Linked DNA regions of Homo sapiens: region 1 is linked to region 2. The links are contacts of gene promoters, found by promoter capture Hi-C in human tissues and cell types (Jung and others, 2019). All regions are on one chromosome and are shown on one strand. Each heading gives the region's core, a stretch centred on a gene start or on the middle of the fragment in contact. The rest is flanking DNA. Distances are from core to core; before and after follow the strand shown.

The links. Contacts are between HindIII fragments. The study calls those that stand out against the background at their distance.
Region 1: a contact is called between a fragment that was not itself captured here and the fragment with the promoter of DAOA in region 2, in 2 of the 25 tissues and cell types used here (dorsolateral prefrontal cortex and spleen).

What each region holds. Positions count from the first base shown.
Region 1 is chr13:105,235,060-105,239,271 of GRCh38, forward strand. No RefSeq gene overlaps it. Among named protein-coding and RNA genes, the nearest start is that of DAOA, 230 kb to the right of the region's middle. The HindIII fragment of the contact is 3,510 bases long and covers 22-3,531 here.
Region 2 is chr13:105,464,107-105,468,865 of GRCh38, forward strand. DAOA (D-amino acid oxidase activator) reads left to right here and starts at 1,939. Exons shown (of 6, transcript NM_172370.5): 1 at 1,939-1,954; 2 at 2,110-2,226; 3 at 2,947-3,035. The coding sequence starts at 2,183. It overlaps DAOA-AS1 (DAOA antisense RNA 1), which reads right to left. Exons shown (of 7, transcript NR_040247.1): 5 at 2,081-2,314. The HindIII fragment of the contact is 13,308 bases long and covers 1-3,360 here.

The DNA.
Region 1 (4,212 bases), core at 527-3,026, 230 kb before region 2:
GAAGAGACAGGGGCACACACACATACACACAGAGAGAGAGAGAGAGAGGGAGAGACAGAGAGAGAGAGAAGAATGCCATGTGGATACACAGACCCACAGAGGGAAGACGTCAGAGACTGAATTTAAGAAACTGCAAGCCAGAGAATGGTAAGGATTGCTGGCAACAGCAGAAGGGCTGGGCCATTAACCCAATATGACTGGTGTCCCTGAGAGAAGAGACAGGGACACACACACACACACACACACACAGAGAGAGAGAGAGAGAGAGAGAGGGAGAGAGACAGAGAGAGAGAGAAGAATGCCATGTGGATGCACAGACACACAGAGGGAAGACGTCAGAGACTGAATTTAAGAAACTGCAAGCCAGAGAATGGTAAGGATTGCTGGCAACAGCAGAAGCCAAGACAAAGACATGGGGCAGATTCTCCCTTGAACTTCAAAGAGTACATTTGGAACTCAGATTTCTCGCCTCCTAAATTTCTGTTGTTTTAGGCCATCCAGTTTGTAGTGATTTTTTATGGCAGTCCTCGAAAAGTAATACTCAGGGATTCTCAAAATTTTGAAGTCAGAACCTCTTTAGATTATTAAAATTTATTGAAAACTCCAAAGAGCTTTTGTTTTTATGGGATATATAATCAATATTTATTGTTTAATAATTAAAAGTGGTAAATTTTTAAAATAGTAACTTTTAAAACAGGAGCATCCTCATTATGTATTAATATAAATAATATATTTTAAAGTAACTTTTTTCAAAAACAAAATTCACTTAGAAGAGTGACATTGTTTCACATTTTTGCATCTCTTTAATGTCTTGCTTCATAAAAGGCAGCTGGGTTCTTATATTGACTTCTGCTTTCAATCTGCTTCAATATGTTGTTCTGAGTGAAGTATATTAAGGAAATATGGCCTCATACAGATATATAGTTGGCAGAGAGGAATATTTACTTGTCTTTTCAGATAATTCAAGATATTCTTCTTGGATGCTATACCTAAACTCATTAAGTGGTAGTATCTTAAGCTTGTTGCTATGTAGAATCCGAAACTTTATAAACTTTTTATACCCTTTTCTATTAAATCCATTGGTTTTTTAATATCTAGCTTTCATTTTGAATGGATCTTTACGCGTGCATAATTTTGTATCAATGTGCACTATTCATTTTGAAAATATTGGTTTACTCACTTAGGGCTAATCTTCCAATGTTGACACATGTCCTTATACAATAGAAAAAAAAATAGCACGGGTTAATGTCAACAATCTTAACTGAAAATTCTTTAAGTTTTGGGTAACCAGTAAGTTCATGGTGGCCAATACAATTTTTTTATTCTAATTTTGATTGGTAACCGAAATTTTATAATTGATAGTTGATACTCTAGTTATCCTTGAAGTGACATGCTCATTTTATTCAATTTGAAAATACGTCTGACATACACTGAATCCCTTATAAAGATCATTTATCTGTCAAGCATTCTTTCAAGTAAACATGGTTCTCTGTGATTAAAACTGCTAGTTCAGCTTGTAACTCAAGAACATGCTATTATCCCAGGACAACCATCAGAATTGGAGATGAAGCAGAAGTGCCTTTCATGTATTTCCCCTTTTATTACAGGGAATATTTTTTAAAGTCTATTTAAGTGTAAAAATATAATAAGATTTTACTGCTTCTGAGTTAACAAGAGAAGAAAGAGAAGAAAAGAGTGCATGAAGACATGTAAATAATATTAGGCACTGTTTTCTGCTTTGGGAAATGTCCAACAACTGGACAAAAATCTTTCCCAATTATTTCATACTTATGCGACCTTAAATATTTTACAAAATCTCTGTAGGCCTCTGCTTCCTTAATGGCATGAAGAAAGCTTCCACAACATTATTATAAGTCTCAAATCCAATTATTTATAAGGCATCCAGCATGGGGCCTGGTACTTGTTGGTGATGACAAAAAATTTAGTCCTTCGCAACACTAGTCTTCTGACAAGGGCTCTTGTCCAAGGTATTAGAGCATTGACATTTATTTTCACCTGACATGTACCTGACATGCAGGCAAATTTATCTTTCCTCCATAGAGCATTGCGGGTGCAGAAATGGTAGAGATGGGAGTACCTTTACTTACTGAGGGTGAGAAACCAATGGCATAGAGAAAGAGAGATTTAATATTCAGTTGTGACAGGATGTGGGAGCAAAATGTCAAAGTTCTCAGGAGAAGATAGGATGTAGATTACAGATGAAAAATAGAAGGCCTAAGTAGGAGGCGAGCGTACCTCTTCGAGAACAAGAAGAAATGAAGTTAACACTGAGACCTATGCAGATAAGTTTTCATGGGATTGAAATTGGATAGAAATATTTTTGTTCCGATGTATTTTTGTTACCAGGAAGGGACTGCGGTTTCTGAGTTTCCTGCACACCCATGTGGATGTGACAGAGCAGGAGGACCTGGGGCTAACTTGAGGGTCATAAGACCGGGTACTGCTCCAGGAAGCTGTCTTCCAGTTTAGAGCCAAGGGGCTGAGGGTCACAATGCTCATCCCAGTGTTTGTTGGAAAGAGGAGTTGACAGTCAAAGGAGTCGTCTCACACTCTATGGGATACTGCCCTACAACATTACAATCAGGATTGTGCCATTATGTGAGAAATTCTACAGCTAAATTTCTTTGCTATACGCTTGAAAAATACCATTCAGCTTATTTCCTTCCAATGAGAAAAATCTGGGGAATATTTGCTAAACACAACTCTTTTTATGTTAAAATATTTACATTCGTTCTAAATGGTTCAGTAAAGGAAATGGGATTGTTTACTGGCCTCTAACTCAAAATGAGATGTACCTGATGTCATATTCGTAGTCTGGTACTCCAAGCTTTTTCAAAGTGCAGAATTACCTGTGAAGACAAAGCAATCCAAACTTGTCTTTCTACTAGGATTTGGTGGTATACAGTGACTAAATTTTTCAAAATGCTTCTTTCTCTATGTGGAGAAAGGATGAAGAAAGTATAAAGTACTAACTTATTTCTAAATTGTCAAAAATACAGATATGGGAGTTCCTCTGTTTTGTTCTTTGTCCATTGAAAGAATTTACCTTATTTTATATGTATTTTTCACTGTTTTTTTTTTTTTTCTTTTTTTGACAGAGTCTCGTGCTCTGTCGCCCAGGCTGGAGTGCAGTGGCAAAATCTCAGCCCACTGCAAGCACTCCCTCCCAGGTTCATGCCATTCTCCTGCCTCAGCCTCCCGAGTAGCTGGGACTACAGGGACCTGCCACCATGCCAGGCTAATTTTTTGTATTTTTAGTAGAGACGGGGTTTCGCCGTGTTAGCCAGGATGGTCTCCATCTCCTGACCTTGTGATTCGCCCGCCTCAGCCTCCCAAAGTGCTGGGATTACAGGCGTGAGCCACTGCGCCCGGCCTTTCTTTTTAATATGATTGTTTTCTTCACTTAAATATGAACTGGTTGATAAAGTTTTATGGAGATATTCTACAACAAGGTACATCATGTGAGTTTGAGATCATGTGATTGGATTTCTGCTGCACTAATTACCCCAGGGATTAAGGTGGCTGAAATGTATCAGATTGTCTAATTTGTTTACCAAATAGAAAGGCAGGCATATAAAGTCATCTATTTCATTTGAGTATTAGAGACATATTATAAGTAGAAAATCTCATCTCTATGTCTTGCAGCATAATTATCCTTTTGCTACGAAGAAAATATTTCACCTTCTACATCTTGACTTACAATTTGCTTTATTACTTGTCTTCCTTTAGGAAATAGCTCCTCTGCTGTCTCTTTTTAGTCTACTTATCCAATTGTGTTTTATAAGCACCTAGTTTTTGTGGTAACATTCTACTCTCACATGTATCAGTGCACTCAATTCTATCACTGCCCTGGAACTGTGCTTACTCAAGTATCTTTCCCAATAGAGTGAGGGACTTAAGATGAAGAATACATTTTTTGAAGTGTTGCATCCAGACAATGAAGCTGCTATTGAATGGACACTTGAAATAAATTAATAATTAAGAAATAATTGTATGATGATGCACCTAATTCCATTTCCAGCAGGTGACAGCCGTTAAGAGAATCAGGACACATTTCAGCCTGTGTACATAGAATTTATCTCCATTTTCTGTGTCCTTTATATGGATATAACCAAGCCCTGTAGCTCACAAAGGCACAGAAACTAATTGCAGTTTCTATAACCCCTCCTGAAAAAAATTTTGACCTCCTAG
Region 2 (4,759 bases), core at 689-3,188:
GTGGACATGGGTCTTTGAATTTCTAACAAATGTTATTGTGTTTTAATTGTGCTAAGAAAACCCTGCTCTGGCAACCTAATAAAGTAGCCTGCTAATAACAGGTACTCAATAAATATTTGTGGAACAAATGAATTATTGATTCTTTGTATGAACAGTTCATTCTCAAGCAAACACCTGAACATCAACCTCTCCCACCCCACACCCCTTTTGAAATATTCTTCATAAAACTTCCTACTGTATGAAAGTATCTTCTGTGTGTGAATTTTTACAGTCTGCATCACCACATGGAATGTGAGATCCCTGAGAAAGGAGACTTTGTTTGTTTTGTTCCCCACAGTGCCTCAGTGTCTGAAATAGCACCTGGTAAATCATAGGGACTTCTGAAATACTTTCTGAATGGATAAATGAGTGGTAGGAAAAGTGTGAACATGGTAGATAAAAGAGAAGTCACCACTAGAACACCAAGTTCCTGACATACAGTTTCAAGGTCCAGCAACATAGTTGCTACGAACTAGCTGCCTTTAAAGTTCTCTAGATCAACTATATAGATTAGCAAGTCTTTTAACTAAGCATTAAGCAGAGTACTGCTCTGAGATTTAGCACCTCAGTCTTTTAGGTCCCTAAAGACTCCGGATTGGTTCCAGAGGTGGACTGTCAAATAGGAGGACTTTCTGCAGTAATGGAAATGGTCTATGTCAGTGCTGTCCAACATGGTAGCCAAGTGTGTGTGGTTATTGAGTACTTGAAATATGGCTAGTGGCACTGAGGAACTAAAGTTTTAATTTTAATTAGTTTAAGTAGCCTTAGGTTGCTAGGGGTTACCATATTGGATATTGCAGTTCTAGAGTTATTCTTCTCTCCTCATATTCAAAATTATCTTATGATGCTATCATAATTGAAAGATTAGCCAGGGACCCTATCATGGCTATGGCAGTCATGTCCTGTGAAAAATTCCATTAATGACCTCCACGTTTTATGATGTGTAGAGCAAAATCTCAGTCTCCCTGAGTAAGGCCTGCTCCATGTGGACACCTGGCTTTCTCCCTTGTCTACCTCCCTCAGTGGAGAGTCCACCTGCTGGTAGTGCACTCCTTAGGTGCCTGTCTCTGGCTGTCCTGTGCCACCTGCACAGAGTCATGCATGAGCTCCACTGTGGGAAGTCTCTAGAGATGAGCTGAGCTTACCCTACACCAACTGAAAGAGTCTATCTAAGTCCTGAAGATCACAAGTCATCCTCATATTCCCATGAATGTGAATGGAAGTTGGGCCTGCTCAGAGAATCATCAGGGCTCTTTATTGTGGCCTGGAGCCAACTGCCAAGGAGTGCCTAGGAACACACTCAGTAAGAGTGTTGCCCTCAGGCCAGATCAGACTTGAACCTGCAGAGAAATCCCCTAGGTATGTCAGCAATTGCTCATTTGGATGCTATAAACTTGAAGTTGTGAAAAATATAAAGACTTACATTATCCAGTCTCTCCTGGCAAAATATGTAGGTTTAATCATTCCTGAATTTTCCTTAGTTCACACAGATATACAAATATATATCCTAAAAATTGGCATTGGTAGGCGTGTCAAGTTATCATTTTAAAAACATAGAAACCTGAACAAGATGTATCACTCCAGTCTAGAATGTCTATATGCAGAGTATCCACAAAAAACCAAACTTCAACAGTCTTTCATGTCTATATTTCTTCAACATTCTTTGTCTTCAACATTCTTTCATGTCTAGAATGTCTATATGCAGAGTATCCACAAAAGACCCAAACTTCTTTCATTTAAAGAACCAAACTTCTTTAAATAAAAATGACTCACAATAATTTAATATTTTACCATTTACAAAGAGATTAACTACAACAATATTGATCTTGAGTTAATTTCCCACGAATAACATTTTCATTTCTTAAAATTTGCTGAATGGAAAGCCAGAAAGTAGAGTGAAGCAAGTAATGTGTGTGTGAGTAGTCATTGGATACATACATAACAGTGAGCAAGTTTATCAGCTCCTGCATGGCAGTGTTCTGATGATCTTTTGCTGCAAAAGAGCTACACCCCAAATTAGTGGCTTAAAGTAAAAGCTTACTAGTGTATATGATGATTCTGTTGGTCCAGGATTTGGAAAGGGCATGGCAGGAGGTCTCATCTCTGCTTCACAATGCCGATGATTTAGCTGGGAGGACCCAAAATGCTGGAAAAGCTGATGGGTGCTGATTCTCTCCAGCTTTTCAGGTAGGTAGCTTGGGGTTTTTTACAGCATGGCGGCCTCAGTGCAATGTGACATTTGCATGGCAGCACAGAGCTCCCAGGGTGAATGTTCCTGGAGACAGGAAGTGGAACATGTCAGGGTTGGAAGCCTGAGCCCAGTATATGGTTCAGCCTTACTTTCTCCCATATTCTGTCAGTCAAAGGAGAACCTAGCCAAGGATCACTCATGTTAATGAGGAGGAGACATAGGCCCTCACCTATCCCTGGGAGGAGGATCAAAGAGTTTGAATCTTTAATCCACAGCAGGCAGACAGCTTTCCATTGTTATAAACCACCTCCCCCTCACTCCATCTGCCTGTGCTAATTGTTTGCTCACAGGAATTTGTTTAGCACTGTGTAGAACTGGGATAACTTTGTGCTTATTTTGCAGTTAAAAGGGAGAGGCGCTAGTTTGGAGATTTTTAAAAAGCAAAGGTTTGAGAGCCAGTAAGACCTGGAGTGAACTCTCCTGTCAGCTATTTACCAACTGTATGACTGAGCAATTTATAAAAAAAAAATGCAAACCTCAATATCTTCATCTATAAAAATAAAAAAATAAGACGTATTTGGCTGAATAGTTAAGATTAAAAATATGAAAGTGCTAAACCATACATGTTATATGCTCCATTGATGTTGCTTATTCTTTCTCTCTTCTGCAGGGTATAAAGGAATCTGAACACGACTGATATTTTCTTTAATTTTTAGATCCAGATATACATTGGGTAAAATCTACTTCATAGGTTTTCAAAGGAGCATTCTTCTGAGCAAATCTGAAAACTCTCTAAACTCTATTGGTATGTTACTCTTTATCTTTATATGAATTTAAATTCTTCTAGAAGTTAGATAAAACTGTGGTAAAGCTACATAATACTTTTGACATATTTTCAAGCGTAGACAAACTTCAATTAATTTGTAAGATACAGGAAGAAAATTTTTCCAGTTAAAATGTACCTCTTGGTTTCTGGAGTGTTAGCAACCATTCACACTTACAGTTCAAACAGTGCAACCTTGTAAAACATATATAACTTATGAAGAGATCGATATCTCTTTTTATAAAGCAAACAAGTAAATTTTTCCCTCAATCCATGATTTATTTTTGTGAAGTGGGAATTTAAGGCAGTAGTTCTGCTTTCAAGTGAAAACCTGGATCAACTTTTAAATATCTATAGGCGCAAACCCAAGCTAGGTCTCACACAGTGCCTCACTTAATAATCTGTCAACGTTTAATTCTTTTTCTTTTTTTTTTTTTTTTCTGGAGACAGGGTCTCACTATGTTGCCCAGGCTGGAGTGCAGCAGCGCCTCGGCCTCCCCAAGTGCTAGGATTACAGGTGTCAGCCACAACACCCAGCCCATTAATGTTTAATCCCCTAGAAGGTGATCCTTTTTTTTTTTTTTTTTTCAAAGAGACAAATTGCAGCTCCTTCTCTGGGCTTTTCTACACTATAGCAGATAACTTAAAATCTGACATGCCAAGATATAGCCTTGTCTTAGTTTTCTATCACTGCTATAACAAATAAGCACAAATTTAGTGGTGAAAAAAACAAGCACATTCATTATTTCATAGTTCTCATCAGGCTGACAGACATCTTACCTGGCTAAAAGCAAGGAATGGGCAGGGCTGCATGCCTTCTGGAGGCTCCAGGGCTGAGTCCATTCTCTTGCCTGCCCCAGCTTCTGGAGGCCTCCTGCATGCCTTGGCTCGTGGCCTGCCCTCTGTCTTTAGAGTCAGCAATGTTGCTTCTCTGACCACTCTTCTTCCAGCATCCCCCTCTCTAAGCACAGCAGGGAGACCTTCACTGATTATAAAGATGCCTGTGACTACCTTGGACCCACCAGGATAACCGAGGTCACTCTCCACCTCCCGGTCGTTAACATTAATTACATCTATGAAGTCCCTTTGTTACACAAGATTCCACAGGTTTTCAGGATTAAGAACTGGACATTTTTGGGGGGTGGAGCAAAGAAGTTTCTGCCTACCACAGCCCTTGATAGCATAATTAAAACATTGATTTTCATAAGGTTTTCCTAAACTGAATTTTATTTTGCCTCAAAGGTGCAGATGGTCAGTCTTTGAGTGCCAAGTTTAGATGCTCATCTTACTTTTAATTTCTGACCAAGATTGATGATTACTTGAATATGTTGGCTACCCAAGTAATTTTATTTACTTTTATTAAAGAGGATAATTATATTTCAATTAATAGATTCTCTTTAACAACAATTAAAAAATTACAAATGTTAGCTGAGAGTGACAGATATGAAATGAATTTAAAAAGTCTAATCAATGCCTGGTGGAATAATTTGAGAAGCAAAATAATTAGAAACAATTTTCATTGAAAGGCATGCAGTATGTTAATTTCTTCCACTTAGCCTTCAACAAAGCTAAGAATGTTGGAAGGAAAACAAGCTTATTGTCTTCTAATGATGGCCATGCCTTGGAACACTATTCCCTTCAGAGATTTGTCTCTGGTTTGTGGAATCACAGTAAAATATTATGAAAATAATTGTGGGTAAACAGGG